2 separate regions of the Homo sapiens genome follow, and region 2 is linked to region 1. Evidence: promoter capture Hi-C in human tissues and cell types (Jung and others, 2019). All regions are on one chromosome and are shown on one strand. Each heading gives the region's core, a stretch centred on a gene start or on the middle of the fragment in contact. The rest is flanking DNA. Distances are from core to core; before and after follow the strand shown. Region 1 holds the start of RRP1 (ribosomal RNA processing 1). Region 2 has its middle 4.3 kb from the start of TRAPPC10.

What was found. The method cuts DNA at HindIII sites, captures the fragments that hold promoters and counts their contacts. A contact is called where the count stands out against the background at its distance.
Region 2: a contact is called between a fragment that was not itself captured here and the fragment with the promoter of RRP1 in region 1, in 1 of the 25 tissues and cell types used here (dorsolateral prefrontal cortex).

The regions. Positions count from the first base shown.
Region 1 is chr21:43,787,946-43,791,029 of GRCh38, forward strand. RRP1 (ribosomal RNA processing 1) reads left to right here and starts at 1,632. Exons shown (of 13, transcript NM_003683.6): 1 at 1,632-1,817. The coding sequence starts at 1,685. RefSeq lists silencers at 1,433-1,662, 1,873-2,042 and an enhancer at 1,693-1,802. The HindIII fragment of the contact is 35,062 bases long and covers 1-3,084 here.
Region 2 is chr21:44,006,468-44,009,551 of GRCh38, forward strand. No RefSeq gene overlaps it. Among named protein-coding and RNA genes, the nearest start is that of TRAPPC10, 4.3 kb to the right of the region's middle. The HindIII fragment of the contact is 5,883 bases long and covers 1-3,084 here.

The sequences.
Region 1 (3,084 bases), core at 382-2,881:
AGGCTGGAGTGCAGTGGCCGGATCTTGGCTCACTGCAACCTCCGCCTCCTGTGTTCAAGCAATTCTCTTGCCTCAGCCTCCCGAGTAGCTGGGATTACAGGTGCTCGCCACCACACCCAGCTAATTTTTGTATTTTTAGTAGAGATGGGGTTTCACCATGTTGGCCAGGATGGTCTCGAACTCCTGACCTCGGGTGATCCACCTGCTTTGGCCTCCCCAAGTGATGGTTGGGATTACAGGCATGAGCCACCACTGCCAGCCTTTTCAACTTTTTATGAAAAATTTCATACATAGAAAATGTCAGAAGATAGGTCAATGAAGACCTGTATTCCTGCCTGTAGACGCCACACTTGTATTTTTTTGAGACGGAGTCTCACTCTGTCACCCAGGCTGGGGTGCAGTGGCGCGATCTCGGCTCACTGCAAGCTCCGCCTCCGGGGTTCACGCCATTCTCCTGCCTCAGCCTCCTGAGTAGCTGGGACTACAGGCGCCCGCCACCACGCTCAGCTAATTTTTTGTGTTTTTAGTAGAGACGGGGTTTCACCGTGTTAGCCAGGATGGTCTCGATCTCCTGACCTCATGATCCGCCCGCCTCGGCCTCCCAAAGTGCTGGGATTACAGGCGTGAGCCACCGCGCCCGGCCAACGCCACAACTGTTAACAGTGTGCCATAGTTGCTTATCTGCATACACATATGTGCGTGTAATGATTTACTTTTTTGCAGAATGAATTACAGACATCATGACAGGTCACCTTTACCAAAGAGTTCTGCAGTTATTTCTAAAAATAAAGAATATTTTTCTACTTCAGGGTATGTCAAACTGTGGCCCTAGGCCAAATGCAGCCTCCCCGTTTTTTTTTTTGTTGTTGTTTTTTGAGACAGAGTCTCACTCTGTCGCCCAGGCTGGAGTGCAGCGGCGCAATCTCGACTCACTGCAACCTCCGCCTCCCGGATTCAAGCAATTCTCCTGCCTCAGCCTCCTGAGTAGCTGGGATTACAAGCGCCCGCCACTACGCCTGGCTAATTTTTGTATTTTTAGTAGAGACAGGGTTTCACCATGTTGGTCAGGCTGGTCTCAAACTCCTGACCTCGTGATCCACCCGCCTCAGCCTCCCAAAGTGCTGGAATTACAGGCGTGAGCCACCGCGCCCGGCACACCCCTGGTTTTAAAAATAAAGTTTCGAGCCGAGAGTGGTGGCGCCCGTGGTCCCAGCTCCTCGGGAGGCTGAGGCTGGGGGATCCCTGGAGCCCGCGAGGCAAAGGCTGCAGTGAGCCGAGATCGCGCCTTGCACTCCAGCGTGGGTAACAGAGCGAGACCCTGTCTCAGGAAAAAAATACAAGTGGGGTTATAAATAAAATGAGATTAAAAAACAACAGATCTTTGCCTCAGAATCCCGACCCACCGCAGCCCCAGCGAGGCGCAGGCGCAGGCGCAGGCGCGCGCTCGCTGGTTCCGCCCATGCGCACAGGCAGGGAGCGCGCGCCCCCTCTGTAGCCTTCGGCCTCCGGGGGCTGCAGTTGCGCGGCTCGGCCACTGCGCGGCGGTGGCGTGCGCCTGGGCGGTGTCGCGGGCTGTGACGTCACGCCACGCGCCGGGGCCAGGAGGAGGCGGGCGCAGGAGGCGCGTGCTCAGTGTGCTGGGTACCAGGCGACTCCGGGACAGGGGGTCTCGGCCGTCGGCGTCATGGTTTCGCGCGTGCAGCTCCCGCCTGAGATCCAGCTGGCTCAGCGCCTGGCGGGGAATGAGCAGGTGACCCGGGACCGGGCGGTGAGGAAGCTCCGGAAATACATCGTCGCCAGGACTCAGCGGGCCGCAGGTTGGCGGGGGTGTGGGCGGCTGGCGTCTCGGGGGCCGGCTGGGCTGGTGCGGGTGTGGGCGGCGGCGGCCGGAGCTGGGGGCCCTCCGAGCCCTGTGGAACCTCCACGTGGCCGGGCCGGGCAGGCGGGGTCCACTGGCCTGTTCCCGCTGTTACCGGCCCACGGCCCCCGCCGCCGCTTTCCCTCGTGGTGCGGTGACTCTGGTCCCTCTGCGAGAACGCTCCTCCCCAGCCCCGTAACCCCTTTCCTAGCTCAGGCGTCCCCTCCCTCCAGTAGACCATGTACTCCTGCTGCCCTGCTGTTTGGGCACCCAGTATTTTTCCCTCATGGCAGCATTTCCCACTGTTTGCAGTTTTCTGTTTTGCGTTAATTATTGGATTGTTTTCCGATTTCCACTCGAGAGTACCTCTCTGAGGGCCGAGAATCTACTTCTTGTTCATGGTACCAGGTGGTTCTCCGAGCGTGGTCCCCCATCAGCAGTAGCATCCCCTGGACATTTGTTAGAAATACACGTTCTATGCCGGGCGCAGTGGCCCAAGCCTGTAATCCCAGCTACTTGGCACGTCGATGTGGGAGGATCACAAAGGCCCAGGAGTCCAGCCTGGGCAACATAGCAAGACTCCATTTCCATCGCAAAAGAAAAGAAAGAAATGCAAGTTCTAGGATCCCAGCCCTACTAAATCAGGACTGGCATCTGCTTTATGAAGCTGTTCAAGTGCTTCTGCTCCCCACACTCAGCCTGAGAACCACTGCTGCAGGAACAGGTTGCCAGACACATAGGACTTCAGTGAATGTCAACTGAGTAATGTTTTAAATTAAAATTTTTTGTTATTTTTCTGAGTGAGACAGACCTCACTGTCATCCGTGGTGGAGGAGTGCATTGGCACGATTACAGCTCACTGCAGCCTCTACCTCCCAGGCTCAAGTGAGCCTCCCATCTCAGCCTCCCCAATAGCTGGGACTACTGGCACCGTGCGGCCAGGCCAGCTAAGTTTTGTATTTTTTGTACAAATTGGGGTCTTCCTATGTTGCCCAGACTGGTCTTGAACTCCTGGCCTCAAGTGATCCTGCCTCAGCACTCAATTCCAAAGTGCTGGGAGTACAGGCGTGAGCCACCGCACCTGGCCTCAGTAATTTCTGTTTCTCTCGTAGTCTGAATGCCTGAGTTCACTTTCTTCTTTTAGTATTTGAGATATATTACAGGAGAGTGCAGAAGCCCTCAGTATAATGCTGGATGAATTATCACCAACAGATTAACCTTGTGGC
Region 2 (3,084 bases), core at 343-2,842, 220 kb after region 1:
CTCTGTGCAGAGGGCCCGAGCAGTCCCTCTGGTTAGATAAGGCAGACACAATGTCCCAATACATAATTTAACAGGCTCTTTGCAGCCTGGAGACGATGTAATGGGTTACCAGGAAAAACCATTTGAGTTCAAGTTCCAGCAACTTTTCAAAAACAATAAAACAAAATAAAAAACACCCCAAATGCTGCCTCATGAAAAAAGGTACTAAAAAAAAAAAAAAAAGAATGAACATCGATTGACAGGACTAGCATCATTTCACCATGATTCATTAAAAGAAAGTGCCAAACCAGTGTTTGTGCTGAATTCAAGCATTTTCTAAATTCCCAAGTGGAAAAAAAAAATCTCTTATAGGTCTGCTCAGAGGGAAAATAGGCTTGCAGTCCACTTACTGCCCACGCACCAAAGGCTGCCTGGACCAGAGCCGGTGGGATTGGAGGAGGGGATTCTGCCTTTGCCTCCCTTCCTCCAGAAAGAACACTCCCTAACGTGGGAGCCCATCCAGCCGCACAACGCTGTGTCCACGTCTTCGGGAAGGGGAATGGCTAGTGTCTGTCTTCTCAGAGCAGCTGGACTCAGTTCTCTGTGAGAACAGTACAAAGACATAGATATTCCTCGGCTTGGAGTCTACACTTGGTATTGTCGGGTTTTTATTTTTTATTTACTTATTTTTTGTTTTTTGAGACAGAGTCTAGCTCTGTTCCCCAGGCTGGAGCGCAGTGGTGCAATCTCGGCTCACTGCAACCTCCGCCTCCCGGGTTCAAGCGATTCTCCTGCTTCAGCCTCCCAAGTAGCTGGGATTACAGGTGCACGCCACCACGCCTGGCTAATTTTTTGTATTTTTAGTAGAGACGGGGTTTTACCATGTTGGCCAGGCTGGTCTCGGACTCCTGACTCCTGAGGCCCACCTCAGCCTCCCAAAGCACTGGGATTACAGGCATGAGCCACCGTGCCTGGCCTCGTCAGGGTTTTTAATTATAAATTTAAATTTTATCGATTTGAGTACATGTGAAGTGGCATCTCATTTTCATTTTAACTTGCATTTCCCTGATGTCTAATGAGCGCTGAGTGTCTTTTCCTGACATAACTGGTCCTTTCTGTCTTTCTCCTGTTGTTCTTTCCCTGACTTCTTTTGGATTAGTCAGATATTTTCTATTATTTCTCTTTTCTTTATTGGCTTCTTAGCCAAACCCCTTTTGTTCATTTTTTCCCTAGTGCTTTTTCTCCTGGGCACAGACTACGTATGCCTCACATATCAAATTTAATGTAGGGTCAATATTGTATCACTTCAGTCTTCCCTCTTCATACATAACCCTTTGCATCTTGCACCTCACACCTGGAGTTCCACACTTCACAGTGTGAGGAGCTTATCAGTGGGTTACCTCTCACCATCCATCCTTCACACTGTCCTTACCTTTTACTTCTACACACACTGTAGAAGTATCACAAGCTATTGTTTGTTTTAAACAGTCAGTGGTCTCTTAAAGAAATTATGAGAAGGGCCGGGTGCAGTGGCTTATGCCTGTAACCCAGCACTTTGGGAGGCCAAGGTGGGCAGATCACCTAAGGTCAGGAGTTCAAGGCCAGCCTGGGGAAGACCCCCTGCCGTCTCTACAAAAAATTAAAAAATTAGCTGGCATGGTGGTACGTGCCTGTGGTCCCAGCTACTTGGGAGGCTGTAGTGGGAGGATGGCTTGAAGCCAGAAGACTGAGGCTACAGTGAGCCGTGACTGTGCCCCTGCACGCCAGCCTGGGCGACAGAGCAAGACCCTGTCCCCCCACCAAAACATTTTTTTTCTCTTGATCTATTTCACCAGTTTGAGTATGATATGCCTGCATGTAATTTTCTTTGTATGTGTTCTCTTCAGGTTTTGCTGAATTTCTTGATCTGTAAATCAGTATTTTTCACCACGTGTTTGGATTTGGAGCCATCATTTTGCAAAAATGTTTCCTTCCTAGACTCATACTCTCCTTCTGGAGCTCCGATCACACATGCTTTTGGCCATTTCATACTGTCCCATAGGTCTCTGAGGTTCTCTCCACTTTTCTTCAACTTTTTTCTCTTCTTCAGATTAAATAATTTCTATCCATCTGCCTTCAAGATCCCAAACTCCTGTTTTCTCCAATCTGTTAATCCAATTCAGTGAAATTTTCATTTCTGTTATTGTACTTTTCAGTTCTAGACTTTTCTTTTGATTCTTTTAGATACTTTGTTATTCTGCTGTGAATTTCTGATTCTTTACTCATTAAGACAATATTTTCATTTAATCCTTTGGACATATTATTTTTATTTATTTTGAGATGGAGTCTTGCTCTGTCACCCAGGCTGGAGTGCAGTGGCACTATCTTGGCTCACTGTAACCTCCACCTCCCGGATTCAAGCGATTCTCCTGCTTCAGCTTTCCGAGTAGCTGGGGCTACAGGCGTGCGCCACCACACCCAGCTAATTTTTGTGTTTTTAGTAGAGATGGGGTTTCACCATGTTGGCCAGGCTGATCTCAAACTCCTGGGCTCAAGTGATCTGCCCACCTCGGCCTCCCAAATTTCTGGGATTACAGGTGTGAGCCACCGTGCCCAGCCTCCTTTGGACATATGTAGAGCTGCTTTAGAATCTTTGTAAATACAGAATCTGGTTCATTGTAGGGGGATTGGTTTCTGTTAACTGCTTTTTTTTTTTCTTAACTATGGCTTACGTTTTCCTCTTTCTTTGTATGTTTAGTGATTTTTGTTTTTTTAGTGTATATTCAACACTGATAAATAACAAATGAGGGAGACTCAGGGTGCTCTTCCACTGAAAAATCCTGACTTTCGTTCTAGTTTGTAGTTCCATTACTGGACGTACCATGCTGGGCTGTGTAGGCTTAGCTTTAGGCTCTGTTTACTGAGCAATGTCCCAGGTGTCTCCCAGGCCCCTCTTACTTGGCAGGACTTAACCTCCAAACTCTGACCGTCTTGTGGATCGGGTCAGGGTTTTGCTTTAGACGTTGTTAAGGCGGGCCTGGAGTAGTCCTTATTCTAGGGGAGGGACTGGCAACCTCTGGCTCACAAGCCACATGTGTTGATGGCCTGTTTTTGTACAGCACTTAA